Regions from separate parts of the Homo sapiens genome. Here all the other regions are linked to region 5. The links are contacts of gene promoters, found by promoter capture Hi-C in blood cells and fetal thymus (Javierre and others, 2016). All regions are on one chromosome and are shown on one strand. Each heading gives the region's core, a stretch centred on a gene start or on the middle of the fragment in contact. The rest is flanking DNA. Distances are from core to core; before and after follow the strand shown.

Region 1 (3,287 bases), core at 788-3,287, 690 kb before region 5:
GTCTCTGTATTTGAAAATGATAACAAAATACCAAGAAGAGATGGAAAAAGTAAATACATAAAAGCAATTTCCCGAGGACAGTGTTTTTCAGAGACTGGTCCTGGACCATCTGTAGCAGAATCACCTGAGGAGCCTGCTAAGCTTCCCAAGCCCTGCCCAGACCTAGGGAATCCTCCGGGTGGAGCCTAAGAGTCTACATTTGAGTATCAGGGCTTTAGGCTATACTGGCTAGCAGAAGGTAAGGCCCATGAAATGGCCCTTTTCATCCATGGCCATGCTGTCCTTGGGAAAGATGGTGGTGGCCGCCGTGTATGACGTCCCTTGTTCCAGCTGTGGGTTTAGAGAATCCCTCAGATTTCCTCTGGAGATTCCAGGTGCCAAGACACCTGTAGGAGGAAGGCCGGAAGGGAAAGGTCAAGTCCGGAGCAGAGGCGTGGACCGCGGCAGGCTGCTGTTGGAGCGTGCTGGGCTCAGAAGCCGGGTTCTAGCTAGGAAACTGCGGAGTGGCCAAGGAGTTCCTGGCGCGAGGCACGCCACACAACCCTCGGATGCGAAGACGGTGACCATCCATTTCTCAATACGCCAGTGGCCCTGCCGTGCTACTGAGCCTCGTCAGCCTGTATAATGGAAGCTGAAGATGATGCAGCTCAGGAAAAGCAAGTATGATCTTAAGAACCCTGTAGCTGGAAAGCATGTTCCAAATCAAACCTAATGGAGACAACTACTAGAAGGTATAAAAGTTTTTTTTTTTTTTGAGACAGAATTTTGCTCCTGTTGCCTAGGCTGGAGTGCAGTGGCGCGGTCTCAGCTCACTGCAGCCTCTGCCTCGCCGGTTCAAACGATTCTCCTGCCTCAGCCTCCCAAGTAGCTGAGACTACAGGCGCCCACCACCACGCCCGGCTACTTTTTGTATTTTTGGTAGGGACGGGGTTTCACCATGTTGGCCAGACTGATCTCAAACTCCTGACCTCAGATGATCCGCCCGCCTCACCCTCCCAAAGTGTTGGGATTACAGGCGTGAGCCACCGCGCCCAGCCCAAAAGATTTTAAAAAGGAGTCTCTTGGAGGCAAAGGGACAGAACATTATTGTTTTTCATCATAAACCTTTTGGTGCAATCTGATTTTCTTTTTTTAAACCATGTACTTGCACTATTTTTATCTCAAAAAAGGTTTTTAATGCATTTAAAAACAAAGAAAAGAATGGTTTATAATACACCGTTAGGCTTCTGGGAGGTCTGAAACACACTATGAACCGTAAAATAACCTTGTAATTATCTCCTTAAAAACCGAGTGGGGTGGGCCAGGCGTGGTGGCTCACGCCTGTAATCCCAGCACTTTGGGAGGCCGAGGCGGGCGGATCACGAGGTCAGGAGTTCGAGACCAGCCTGACCAACATGGTGAAACTCCGTCTCCACTAAAAATACAAAAATTAGCCGGGCGTCGTGGCGCGCCCCTGTAGTCCCAGCTATTCAGTCGCAGAAGAATCGCTTGAATTCGGCAGGCGGAGGCTGCAGTCAGCAGAGACCGCGCCACTGCATTCCAGCCTGGGCGACAGAGACTCCGTCTCAAATAAACAAACCAAAACTGAACTACGGAGACGCCCTCGACAGTTCTTTCCCGGCTGCGTCGCCGCTGGCTGAGGTCAGAAACGCCGGCCTTCGGCTGCGGCGGCGGCTGCGGCGGCGGGGCGGGGCCGCGGGACTCTCGCTCCTCGCGGGAGGCGGTGGCTGCGGAGTGCGCACGCGCGGAACCGCAATTCCGTTCTTCCCGGAAGTGCCCTGCTGGTGCTGGGAGTAGGGCGCAAGATGTCGGCGGATGCAGCTCCGAGGAGGTAGGCAGTGGGAGCCGGCGTTCAGTCCGGCCCGTGCCAACAGTGGTTCCTCTCTCCCCCGTAGTTCGAGGAGACCACGCGCTGCCCCTCTGGCACGATCGTGGATGAACCCCCTGGCAACTGAAATGGGAAAGGCAGCGCCCCCGACTCTGGGGACTGGACCGAAGTCCACGGTAGTGACAGCTGCCAGACCCTGAGGAGAGGACGAGAAGACCCGAGGCCTCTGCTACGAACACTGGCAGCCGATGGAAAATTCAGACGGATTTGGGACAGTATGCAGAGTTCTCCAAGCGACAGATTAACAGAGGCTCTTGAAGAATAACTGCGTAATCACGTGTTCTGCTCAAAAGAAGGCCTGAATGCCCAGTGCCTTATTTGGCTTTCAGGGTTGGTGAAAGAAAAAGCAAAGTAGATGCTTTCTAATGCTAAGTCATTTAATGTAGCACCATTCCTTGAACTTCTTTCATCTCTAAGGTCGTCCCTTTCACCTGATGATGACCTTTGGGCCATCGTACAGGCATGTGTAAACTTGGAGATCTTCCTCAACATTGCACCATATCTTGGGTTCATTCAAGGCAGAGTCTCCTTGCAAAAGCATTCTAAAACAATGTAAAGTCGAAGAGAGTAGAGCAATACCTCCATAGTTGGAAAATGTGGAGGAGGCCAATTAAGGGACAGAAAAAGAAGTGCAGAGAATCTTGGAATTGTTGCAAAATTATTCTGGAGATATTTCTAAGTCTCCTCTATCCTTTTCCTTAGTGATTAATACAGGTTTTTATATTAAGTGGACAGTAAAATCCAAACAGAAAGAGGTATATGTCGTATAATGAAGCCTATGTTCAAAGTATATCTGAAATTTGTTTTTATAATGTCTTTCTTGAGAGCTTATAAAGATGTCAGTATTCTGTGGGAAACAAATTGGCACATGCATAAAAGAGAAAAAATGAAAAAAATCAGGCCCAACTTTCAGTTTACAGATGAGGAAACTGTGACATAGAAAAGGAAATGACAAAGATCACACTGAATCAGACCTGGGAACTGGAGCCCAGCCATGCTCCTTGGCCCAGTGCCTCTTCTTATTCTAGGAGCTCATACCCCTTTGAAAGAAACATAATATGAATGTGTCTTCAAATGATGCTCATAAATCTCTTCATCATACTGAGGGAGGGAGATAAGGGGATTAGTTCTTCAGGATCTAGACAGGCTTTCAAGAAAATCTTTAGCTGGGTGCGGTGGCTCATTCGTGTAATCCCAGCGCTTTGGGAGGCTGAGGCAGGTGGATCACCTGAGGTCAGGAGTTCCAGATCAGGCTGGCCAACAGCGTCTCTACTAAAAATACAAAAATTAGCCAGGCATGGTGGCGGGAGCCTGTAATCCCAGCTACTCGGGAGGCTGAGGCAGGAGAATCGCTTGAACCTGGGAGGCGGAGGTTGCAGTGAAGTGAGATCGTGCCATT
Region 2 (2,844 bases), core at 37-2,536, 780 kb before region 5:
ACTGTAGTCTATTAAGCAAAGCAACAAACCTCTAGAGAAAATAATGTCACATATATTCCAGTGAAACAAAATTAATACATGTACCTTGGTAAAGAGGCTGAGCTCTAACCAAAGATAGAGCACTGTTCATTACGTACTCACCCTTCAAAGGAATCAAATCGAAACACTTTCATTTTAACAACGATACTTTTTAAAGGCTTTATTTTGCAATAATCTTTCAAGTCCCTGCATTTCTTAGATTCCTTAAATTCTAACTTCCTGCCTCATAGATCTAAAGTAGCCATGACATACCCAGGTATGTTCTACTCATTTAGTTAGAATCGTATAGAGGAACACAAGTCTGTTTCTAGGTGTACGACTCCACACCCATTCATTTTGCACTAATATAACCACTAAATATAGCTCTAAGACACTGATGATTAAAAGCGGCTAATTATGTGAGTGATTCATACCTCCTATGTCCAAACACCAAGATTCAGGGATGTCTGTCAGATCTATGGGAAGAGGAAACAATAAACACCTGTCACAAAGCTTCTTCCACACCGGGAAGCCCCCAGCTGAGTTCCTGCCAATCCCAACCCGATTCCCTCCCCCTTCATCCCTACCCCTCACCTCCCCAAAAAAGCCAGAGGTCATACTTCCACCAGAACCTGACTCTGTGAAGGGAATGGAGAGACAGAAAGGCCATAGCGAGAGTGGCCACGAGAGCACTGCTAGGGCAAAGGGCCCTGGGTTTTTCTAGTCCTCACTGCCACAGAGTCCGAGTGGGAGGCCTCAGGCAAGTCAGAAGTCACTTTTCCTCCACGGGACTCACTCCTTTTATCTGTGAAATGCGGAGATGGCAAGCAGCTCCATACTCCACGGCTGAGGACGAGCTAGGGTCCCGCACAGACTCATCGAGGGCCCTGCCAGCACCCCTACGCCTCTGCCCACAGGACCTCCACCTCCCACAGGACTTTCCGAAAGCTCTGACTACCAACCACCAAGCGCCCGGCCCCCACGCTCGCCCCCGGCAGGCGGCGCGTCCCCCCCAGGCCTTCGCACCCACCGCGTGGGCTCCTGCCCTGGCCTCACCTGCCCCCGACACTCCCCGTCCCCGCGATGCCCAACTCCGGCCCGAGAAGGCTGGCCGCGACCTCGCCCGGTACCCGCCGCCCCGACACCACCATTCGCCTCCTCGACCTCCCCCGGCGCCGCTGCCCACCCGCCCCTCGCCCCGCTCACCGGGGCCGCTCACTGGCCGCCGCCGCGCCGCCTCCTCCGCGGCCTCCCTCGCGGCCGGACCAGCCCCAGGGACCGCGGGGGACCCGGCCGCCGCTGTCGCCGCCGCCGCCTCGCCTCAGCCCAGCCCCATCGCCCTCGGCCGGCGCCGCGCGCTGCGGCTCAGGGTGAGGGAAGGAGGCGCCGCGGCGGGGCCGGGCCGGCCCTGGGACGTCCGCGCTCTCCTCCTCCTCCGCGCCCGCGGCGGCGGCGTGCAGCCGGCAGGGCGAGAACAAGGGAGGGCGGCGGGAGGTGGGCAGGGGAGGGGGGCGGTCTGCACTCCGAAACGGCCCCCCCGCCGCCAGCGACGTAGAGAACCCCCCTCCCCTCCGCGGCGGCGCCCGATCACGCTGCGGGGAGAGCCGGCAGGCAGGCGGGGGAGCGCGCGCGGGCTCAGGACTCCCGCGCCGGATGTGAGGTCACGTGGTGGCTTCATCCCCGCGCGGAGGGCGGAGGGGCGCGGGCGACGTCAGGAGGCGGGGAAGGGGCGGGGAGGGGCGGGGCGATTTATAGGCCCCGCCCACCCATCGCCTTTGCCACCCTCGAACGGGCAAAAGAAAGAAAGAGGCAGGTAAGGGGAGGCGAGGCCGTCCAAAAACGCTGGGTGTCAGCCCGGGGTGGCTAATGGAGGGCGGCTTTTCTGGTGGGATGAAATGGAACGGCAAATCCCACTTCATCCCCTTTGGGCTATGACAACATCATAGTCCAATCTCCCATTTTATGAACAGGGAAACTGAGGCTCAGTGACTAGACAGACGTTGCCCAGAGTCATGGTCATGGAGGAAGCTTGTGCTAGAATGGTGGAGAGGAAACCAGAGCCCAGCTCCTAATGCAAGGCTCTTTCATTCCTTTAGCCACCCTCGCCCCCGCCAAAACAAACAGACAAAAAACTGTCATTCTCATATGACCACGGACTCTGCGCCCCGGCCGCAGGCGGAGGACAGGGAGGAGCGCACACGAGAAAGCTCCCACGCGCCCGCGCCTCGCCTCCGACGGGAAGGCGCCTCTTCCGACCGTCCTGGATGCAAATTAAATACTTCCCTCCGCAGAAGACTTATCTCGGGGTAGGGCCGCAGCCGGATTTCCAAATCGCGGGTTTGATTTTCGCTGCGTCCTCTCCGCGACGCGCGCAGGGAGCGCGCCCGGCCACCTGCAGCCTCTGGCTGCGGCCATCTTTCCGCCTGGGGCCACCTGGCCTGCGCCCTTTGTGCCCGGCCCGCTCCGTGACTGTTCTTCTTGCCGCTACTTACAGAACTCAGCCGCCTTAGCGTCTTAGAGAAGAGGACGGCATGCATGCGGACCCCGTCCACCACACCTGGAGAGCAGGGAGCCCTTAGTCCCTGGACACTTACCAGGGCCGCCACCCCTGGTCCACGCACGTGATGACATCTCACCAGGGGCAGCACACCGCCCGAGTCCGCGACACTGATAACACCTCCTGCGGGCAGGAGGGCGCCACAGCCACCCCTGGTCCCCTAGATTGTGTGAGGCTAGCATTTCTGCCCGCCTCTTGGCGTGGACAGCACGCTGGACCGAGATGGAACCACAGCTTTCTCTTCCCAATCCCTGGCCTCACCGTTTTGT
Region 3 (2,871 bases), core at 62-2,561, 580 kb before region 5:
AACTCCCGACCTCAGGTGATCTGCCCACCTTAGCCTACCAAAGTGCTGGCATTACAGGCGTGAGCCACTGTACCCAGCTGAGTGGAAAACATTTAAAAAAAATTCAGTCTTAAGGGCCTTAGGACGTCCAGGCCTTTGAATCTATTATATTTTGGCTTGGTTGTGCGTCCCGATCCCTCTCCCTGAATACCTCAGATACACATCATTGAATGACATTAAAAACCCCAGCTAGAGAGAGGTCAGGAAAGTCCAGTCTCAGCCCAGCCACCCATCCCAGCCCTTCCACACCAGTGTGCTCACCTGATAAGCAGACGGCTGTGTGGGCCATCACTAGCCTGCGTGACTAGATTTCACATTTGAAATTATTCCCATGCATAGCCAAGTTCCTCTGCTGTTTGAAACTGATGAAGAGATGAGACAGAGTGAAGATAATATGGCTAATACTTGGGAGACAGGGCAGGGTCTGTGTGTCTTCATTCTTATCTAGTTTAAGTGTCCTGTGAGAATGCCAATGTTGGCTTTCATCTGTGACTGACAGGCATGTGGTGGTTGGTCCAAAAGTTCAGGCAAATAGTGTTGAAACCAACACCATCAATAAATATAAAGCAGCCATCTCTTTAAAGTCTGATATTTCCTCTCATGTGATTTATAAATAGGAAGGGGGGCTTGAAGGTTGAGGAGGAGGAAGAAGAAAATAAGCAGGCTGGAAAGAGCCAGCTCCCTTCCTCCTCCGTCTGTGCCCTCCCCATCTCTCCTTCCTCCCCTCTGCTTTTTGGCATCGATCCCCACTGCACCTCAGAGCTCTGACTGATGTAATTCTAGAAGAGATGTGAAGGTGACACGTGATTCACCTCTTCTGACTTCTCAGTCTTCCAGGGATGATATCACTAGAGTAAGAAGAGATGTTTTGAATGAAAATAAAAGAAAGACCCTAAAACTACTTTGCTCCTGGAGCTCAGAGGGAAAAGAATGGAGCGACAAAAGCAAAGCTAAGTCATTAGATAAAATACACCTTCCAGAAAACACCTGAAGTCTGGTTTACTCATCAAATTTAGCTTTTCTTTCCTGCAAAGTGAGGCTCATGTTTCTCCATGACTTAACCTGATGGTACTTTAAATGCACTGAGACACTTTCCACGTTCTTTCCCAGCCTAGGTAATCCTCCGTGTTCAACAATGCAGCATCGACTGCATGAAAAACAGGGTGACTCCCGGCGGCACGCGGTCCTCCAGGGGTGGCAGCGTGAGTCTGGGAGGAGGCATTCATCGACTCCTCACAGCACAAACATCCCATGTTCACTTCTACCATTTGTCGCATATGTAAGCAGGAAGGTGGGAGGAATAAAATGGCATAAAATAAACAATAGTATTTCATACCCTCCCAACTATGACAGCTTCAGAGAACCCCCTCCACACACACGTGTGTGGACACACATGGTTTCCCTAAAGAAACACCTCTCACTGCCCCACAGTCAGCAGAACAGATTTTAACCAAATTAGAAAGGCTCTGTTATACTAAGAAAGCACAATTCCCTCCCAGGGGACAGAGCTGTTTTTGAGGGTTCTGCTTGTGAGTAGAGAGAGAACTGGTTGGAAGAATCTACCCCTGGCACCATACTGGAGATTTAAAAATCTCATTGTAGTTGCCAAGGATCACGAGAAACATAGAAATTCTATTAGGAGCAAGTTGCCGTCTTTTTAAACAGGATTTAGTAATTTAATAAGCAGAACTCTTTCCTCTGTGTGGTATGCATCAGTAGTCCCAGCATCTGCTGCTAAGTGATGCATGACAGAGCTAGAAATGTGCACGGACTGCTGGGGTAGGAGCCATGACTGACACATGGGGAACTACTCAGGGCTCCAGGCAGCCAGGAGGGTGCTAGGCCCAGGGCGCTCTGCACTCTCTGCTCCAGGCTTGTTGCACATGTCCACTGTCTTAGTCCGTTTCGTGTTGCTATAAAGAATACCTGAGGCTGGGTAATTTATTTATATTTATTGATTTATTTATTTTGAGACAGAGTTTCACTCTTGTTGCCCAGGCTAGAGTGCAATAGCATGACCTTGGCTCACCACAACCTCCATCTCCCGGGTTCAAGCGATTCTCCTGCCTCAGCCTCCCGAGTAGCTGGGAATATAGGTGCCCTCCACCTCACCCGGCTAATTTTGTGCTTTTTTTTTTTTTTAGTAGAAACAGGGTTTCACCATGTTGGTCAGGCTGGTCTTGAGCTCCTGACCTCAAGTGATCCACCCGCCTTGGCCTCCCGAAGTGCTGGGATTACAGGCATGAGCCACCATGCCTGGCAAGGCTGGGTAATTTATAAAGGAAAGAGGTTTATTTGGCTCAAGGTTCTGCAGGCTGTACAAGAAGTGTGGTGCCAGCTTCTGCTCTGGTGAGGCCTCAGGCTGCTTGCACTCATGGCGGGAGGTGAACTGGAGCAGGAATCAAATGGCAAGAGGAAGGAAGCAAGAGATAGGGAGAAGGGCAGTGCCAGGCTCTTTTGGACAACCTGCTCTCGAGTGAGAGAGAAATCACTCATTGCCTCCGTCTCCCCACAGGGAGAGCATTAACCTATTCATAAGGGATCCACCTCCATGACCCAAATACCTCCCATTAGGCCCCACCTCCAACACTGGGATCAAATTTCAAGAAGAGATTTGGGGGAACAAATATCCAAACTACAGCGGCCACACCTGGATCTGGCTTGACCAGTAGCCGGGGCCGTTTCTGTTCCTTCTGGCTCACCCCTGTTCGTAGGCCCAGTGTCCCCTAGACCAAACCCCCACTGCTTGCTCTAAAGCTCTTGTGACCCAGTTTGAGCGCCTTGACTAACCATCGTCTTGGTGGTTTGAATGGTGAGAAGATGGCCCTGGAA
Region 4 (2,896 bases), core at 1-2,500, 620 kb before region 5:
GTGTGACAAACACTCTCTCCTCTCCAAAGGAAGAGGATAGTTTTTGATTAATCTAAAAAGACTCAGTTGTTTTTTCCCTTTTAAACAAGGCCTTAAGCTCCCACGACTTTTCCATATGAATTCATTTAAAATAGTAATTTAAAATATATCTGAAACAGACTTTAAAGATGACACATTTTTACCCTGAAAAGATTACGCATTTGTGATTCTAATTTAGAGATAAAGCAAGGGGAGTCTCTGTTTCTAATGCCTACAGTTAGGCAGGATTACTTTTCCTCCTTTGTCTCATCTCCCATAGTTTGTCCAAATTTTCCTTAAGCCACTAACAATATTCTACCTTGTACTAGAGTTATTCAAGTACATGCCTCATGTGCCCCAACAGACTGATGCTTCGTAAAGGGCAGGAGCCATCTCTATTTATGCCCTATCCTCCACAGCACCTAACCTAAGGCTACCTGCAATAAATGATTCATGTCTCACTATTAATTTACAGAGAAACTTAAAAGGCCAGGCGTGGTGGCTCACGCCTGTAATCCCAGCATTTTGGGAGGTCGAGGCAGGCAGATTATCTGAGGTCAAGAGTTTGAGACCAGCCTGGCCAACATGGTGAAACCCCATCTCTACCAAAAAAAAAAAAAAAAAATTAACTGGGCATGGTGGTACATGCCTGTTAATCCCAGCTACTCGGGAGGCTGAGGCAGGAGAATTGCTTGAACCCAGGAGGTGGAGGTTGCAGTGAGCAGAGATTGCACCACTGTACTCCAGCCTGGGTGACAGAGCGAGACTCCATCTCAAAAACAAAAAAAAAAGCTATACACTTTTTCATATATATGTATCTATGAATAAGCTGTGGCCTTAAGTGTAGTTATGAAGGGAATTTTACTCTACTTACAAGCCAGCGGATTAGTGTGCCAATTTCATGAAGTCTCCTATTTTCTGCTAGTATCTACAAAACAATAATAGACTAACTTATTAGCTTATAAGTAGAGTAAAATCTCAGACCTTGCAGTTTTTTTTTTCTTTCATTTTCTTTTTTCTTAAAGGCAAGAGTCTCGCTTTGTGGCCCAGGCTGGAGGGCAGTGGCACCATCTCAGCTCACTGCAACCTCCGCCTCCCAGGTTCAAGAGATTATCGTGCCTCAGCCTCCCGAGTAGCTGGGACTACAGGTGTGCACCACCACGCCCAGCTAATTTTTGTATTTTTAGTAGAGACAGGGTTTCGCCATGTTGGCCAGGCTGGTCTCAAAACCTGGCCTTAAGTGATCCGCCTGCCACAGCCTCCCAAAGTGTTGGGGTTACAGGCATGAACCACCACACCTGGCCCCTGCATAGTTCTTAACAAATCCATCTTTGAGTCTTTTTTCCATGCTGGGCACTGTCCTAGATGCTTTATGTAAGTTAATTCATTATGCTGCTGAGAGGTAGCAGAGTTCCTAATTTACTGCTTACTAGCTATAAGAGCTTAGATAAATTATTTAACTTCTCTGTGCCTCAGTTTCCTCAAGTTTGAGGAAATGGGAATAACAGCAGTATCTGCCTTAAGCGTTGCTTTTTGAGGACTAAAAGGTATTTGGTAAGGGTTTAGAAAAGCACATAGCAAGTATTCAATATATGTTAGCTATACTGATTAAATATAATCAACCGTGAGATAGATTTTCCCCCACTTAGAGAAAAGGAAAGTATTTGGGAAGGTTAAGCAAGTTTTCCAAGGTCATTCAAACGGTTACATGGCATTGTTAAATAGGTTTGCAACTTGGAACTGAGTATCTGAAACCTGGATTCTCCCATTTCTTCAAGGCTACACTGCTGAAATCAGGAAATGAGGTTCTATTCTGAAGTTCTCATGCTATCTCACAGTATAAACTTGTGCAGATCACTAGTATTTTCAATTCTTCATCAAATCTGAATCCCTCAAATGCCCAAAATAAACCTGAAGCCCTAATATGCACGTAATAACTAGAGTGTTTCCAAAGCAGAAAGGATATTAGTGATACAGGAGGAACATGATCTCTCATCTGATCAATTGGGAGGATTCCGCTGCAAGTCATTTCTGCCTTGGTAGACACAAAAGATGGCATCACCAAGCCAGGACAGTCACACAGGCAGAGGCCAGGCTCCACATAGAGAGTCTGGAAGACAAGCAAGAGGTTTGAGCTGGGTATACAACAGATAAAAGGAAGAAAGAGCTGCATGCAAGTGGCAAAGCACCACAGAAATACCTGAAAGTGCTTTGTGTGACCAGGTGTGGCAGACACAGATACTTTCTTGTTGCCCATGATGGTGTTGATTGTTGAACTCTTACCAACATTAGGGTAGCCCACCTAGAAGAGACTCAGAAGTTACCAAACAGTAAAACAGTACATCTATCAAAAGACTCAAAGATATGACATAGATGGTGGCAAGACTAGCATAAGCATCTGGTTACTTTAGAAAATTATTTGAAATCCATGCTGTGTTTGTTGAGACATCTTTTTTCTCCTGTGGTGTGGGTATATTTATTCAGACACATCTCCAGTGACAAATGGCCAAGTTATGCACATTTTAATATTATATGTTTTGCTGTTAACAGCAGATGCTACAGAAAATTTCATCCCCTTGTTCCCAGCCTTCCCTCACTGCCCCATCTACAGACAGTGGTTTCCATCGCATCTTCCACACTGGGTGAGGCTGATCGGATGGACATTTGAATAATCACAACACACAATTATTTTTAATTTTCAGTCACGTTTTAGTTAAAGCCAAGTGGAATGTCTGGCATGTGGCAGGTGATCAATAAGTGTCTGCAGAATTTCTAGAGTAAGAAATTCAGAAAATGAGGGAGGATGCTCAGTTTTTCCATAAATGTGAGAAAACTTGTAGAGAAGCTGAACTTTCTGATACAAATTTTTAGCAACAAT
Region 5 (2,842 bases), core at 284-2,783:
TCCTGGCAACAGCTCCCCTAGTCACTCACATAATACAACTCCTGTCTCAGCATGCTTCCCCAACCAACATCAGTCTCCACCCTTTAATATTACCTACTACTCCTTAAAATCTGGCCTCGGATCCCCTCTGTACAACTATTAGGTCAAAATCAAATAAGCAATTTGACCTAGGCAATTCACACTATGTCAGAAACACATCTCAGACAAGGAGAGCCAGGCAGTGAAGACAGATGATAAACAGAGATGGAAGCTGTCATGGAGGCAGACTGGTCCAGCCTGGGACAAGGCGGCCAGCTGTGCTCTCCCCAGATCATATCTGTTCCTCTTGAGCTTTCTCTTCCTCATTCGGAGGAACTCCAGGCTTCTCTAAATGGGTTCATGACCCTTGGAGGAAGGGGAAAAAGGGACACAGAGAGGAGATAAGATGGTTCACAATGAGTTTGACCAGATCCTACTGAAATACCTTAAGAGCAATGAGAAGTGTCACTGCAACTTCAACACTTCCAGAGGCCTCACCAAGGCCCTCTCCAGTTGCTCAGGATGACTACTGGTGACCAGTCCCATCCTCAGAAGTCAAAAACTGAGGAACATAAACAGAGGTGCAGACTCTGAAGGCAGTGCTGAACCCTGCAACGTTAGCAAAATGGGGGCGCGCGGACTCTCCTGGGGGCTGCGCTTAACTGGGGGAGAGGAAAACGAGGCGGTCATTAAAAACGCAGCTCCACTCCTCAGCACCAGCTGAGGGCGTCTGGCTCCCGGACACGCCCCCGAACGAGCCCTCCCGCAGGTTGTGAACACTACATTGCAAGCGGGCAGCTCAGGGAAGATCCTACCCGCTAGTTCCCCGGATCCCCTCCGGGAGCGCAAACTGACCTCGCCTAGGATGGGGTGGGCCACCCACCGGGAGCCCCCAGCCGCGGCCCGCTCACCTTGCACTTGAAGCCAGCGGCGGGCGGCAGGAGCTCCCGCAGCAGGCCCTTGGCCACCTCGCGGCTGGCCTCCTCGCTCACGAAGTGAAGGTTAAGCACCTCGTGCGCCTCGAACTTGGCGAGGCGCAGCAGTGAGCGCAGCGCGACGCGGGCCTTGGCCTGCAGCGCGGCATTGTGCTCCGCCTTGGTGAACATCATCAGCAGGTGGTAGTCCACCGGCCCGGCACCGCCGCCCTCCAAGCTCTTGGCCTTCGCGCCGGGGGCTGGCGCCACGGAGCCCCGCGCTAGCTCCAGCGCGGGCGGCGAGGGCGCGGCGGGAGCCCCGGCGCGGGCCTCCTTCAGCCTCTTGGTGGCGCTGGAGAAGGTCTCCCGGCCTGAGCCGAGGTAGTAGAAGGCGCAGACGGCCAGCGCCGCGGCCAGCAGCAGGGCGCAGTAGTGGGAGCGCACAGCGCCCAGGCGCGCCATGGCCCGAGCGCATGGGAGCCCGCCTCGGAGGAGGCCCATGCGCTACGAGACCGCGGCGCCAGCGGTGCCAGCAACGCGGGAGAGCCCTCGGGTACCCGGACGCCGGCGGCCACTTAGCCCCGGCGCCAGGCGGCGGCCATGAAAGGGGCGGGGCCGCGCCGCCTGGAGCCAATCGCGGGCGCCGGTGCGCGGAGGGGCGGGGCCGGGCGTGCCGAAACCGCTGGGTCCTAGGTTCCAAGGGTATTAGAGGAGGGGTTAGGGTGGGATCCGGCGCCCGGCGTTGGGAGGGGGGGATTCCGGACTCCAGCGTGCTGAGGGCTGGCCCGCTGTCCCGGCTGAGAAATGGCGCCCTACGCGGCGAGCCCCAGAGGATATCCAAGCTGAGTGTTGAAGGGAATGGAGGCGCCCGAACAGAGGAACTTAGGTTAGCCAAAAGCGAAGCTGGAGGCACCAAGAGGTAAAACTTTAATCTCTGCACCTTTTTTCCCTCAATTTCTTGGAGGCTTTAAGCCGTCTCGGCCTCTCCCTGCACACGAGCTGCAGCTAGGCAATTTAAACCGGCAGCTCCTCCCTTTTCCCCCGCCCTGGGAGGAAATGGCCCGGGCCGCACGTCGCGCCGGAGGCCGAGCGGAGGGAGGCTGGAGGATGTGGCCAGCAGGGGGCCCCCGCCGCCCGCACGAACCTGCGAGGCTGCTCCCCGAGCCCCAGCACCGCAAAGCCCTGGAGGGCGACATTCATCCACTTTTGTTTTATAAACAGACTTTTAACACTTTATCAAGAGCCTCCTTGAGGGTACCAGGGAGTTTTGCACGCCGAGGTCACGTGCCCAAAGTCACACAGCTAGCCAGTAGCAATTTTGACCCTAGGCAGTTGCACACTGCTAACTAGATAAAAACGTACTAACTTCAGTCTTCTAAGAATTGAGGCTATACCAGTAGTTTTTAAGTAAACACGTGCAAGTGCTGTGCATGCTGTCTAAATAGACAAAGAACTTGAGTAAGTACAGTAACCCTTCAGTTCTTTGGCCAAGTTCTCTGATTTCTGACCAGAGATTAGGTAAACGGTTTTTCCTGTTATTTCCACATTGTAAGGTTGCATGGATTATCCAACCTCTCTGCTTCAGACCTTGGCTTACATGTCACTACCTACACAAATGATCTCTAAATACCTCCTATCCAGTGTCTGGGCTAAGTGCCATCCTCAATAATTCTGTGAGGGCCACCTAAATATATGTACTACCCTAGTCTCATCTTTCTTCATTGCAAGAACACGTGACTCCAAGAGAACAGAATATACATTTGTTTTTTATTAACCACAATATACCCAGTACCTAACACGGTGCCTACCACATTGGATGAGTCTCAAAAATATACTCAACCATTGAAACAGCATTTTTATTTCTAGAAAATCTTCCTAATAATTTAAGAATGTTCAAAATATTTAACCAT

The links. The method cuts DNA at HindIII sites, captures the fragments that hold promoters and counts their contacts. A CHiCAGO score of 5 or more calls a contact.
Region 1: a contact is called between the fragment with the promoter of TMEM44-AS1 here and the fragment with the promoter of XXYLT1 in region 5, in 1 of 17 cell types (neutrophils). The highest score is 5.2, in neutrophils.
Region 2: a contact is called between a fragment that was not itself captured here and the fragment with the promoter of XXYLT1 in region 5, in 1 of 17 cell types (neutrophils). The highest score is 5.3, in neutrophils.
Region 3: a contact is called between a fragment that was not itself captured here and the fragment with the promoter of XXYLT1 in region 5, in 12 of 17 cell types (activated CD4 T cells, naive CD4 T cells, naive B cells and 9 more). The highest score is 11.1, in activated CD4 T cells.
Region 4: a fragment that was not itself captured here is called in contact with the fragment with the promoter of XXYLT1 in region 5 in 4 of 17 cell types (total CD8 T cells, naive CD4 T cells, total B cells and 1 more); the score reaches 7.5 in total CD8 T cells.

The regions. Positions count from the first base shown.
Region 1 is chr3:194,582,231-194,585,517 of GRCh38, forward strand. It overlaps TMEM44-AS1 (TMEM44 antisense RNA 1), which reads left to right and starts at 2,038. Exons shown (of 3, transcript NR_047575.1): 1 at 2,038-2,218. RefSeq lists enhancers at 1,304-1,969, 2,005-2,054 and a silencer at 1,555-1,814. The HindIII fragment of the contact is 5,912 bases long and covers 140-3,287 here.
Region 2 is chr3:194,485,342-194,488,185 of GRCh38, forward strand. ATP13A3 (ATPase 13A3) reads right to left here and starts at 1,661. Exons shown (of 34, transcript NM_001367549.1): 1 at 1,225-1,661; 2 at 453-494. ATP13A3-DT (ATP13A3 divergent transcript) reads left to right here and starts at 1,799. Exons shown (of 2, transcript NR_033929.1): 1 at 1,799-1,831; 2 at 2,115-2,844. RefSeq lists silencers at 901-960, 1,051-1,100, 1,131-1,790 and an enhancer at 2,461-2,680. The HindIII fragment of the contact is 1,515 bases long and covers 530-2,044 here.
Region 3 is chr3:194,690,376-194,693,246 of GRCh38, forward strand. No RefSeq gene overlaps it. Among named protein-coding and RNA genes, the nearest start is that of FAM43A, 5.9 kb to the left of the region's middle. The HindIII fragment of the contact is 8,231 bases long and covers 1-2,871 here.
Region 4 is chr3:194,648,897-194,651,792 of GRCh38, forward strand. LSG1 (large 60S subunit nuclear export GTPase 1) reads right to left here. Exons shown (of 14, transcript NM_018385.3): 9 at 2,219-2,320; 10 at 1,985-2,128. Among named protein-coding and RNA genes, the nearest start is that of TMEM44, 17 kb to the left of the region's middle. The HindIII fragment of the contact is 3,313 bases long and covers 1-2,896 here.
Region 5 is chr3:195,269,626-195,272,467 of GRCh38, forward strand. It overlaps XXYLT1 (xyloside xylosyltransferase 1), which reads right to left and starts at 1,534. Exons shown (of 4, transcript NM_152531.5): 1 at 930-1,534. The coding sequence starts at 1,433. RefSeq lists an enhancer at 773-1,564 and silencers at 815-994, 1,155-1,684, 1,935-2,164. The HindIII fragment of the contact is 17,042 bases long and covers 1-2,842 here.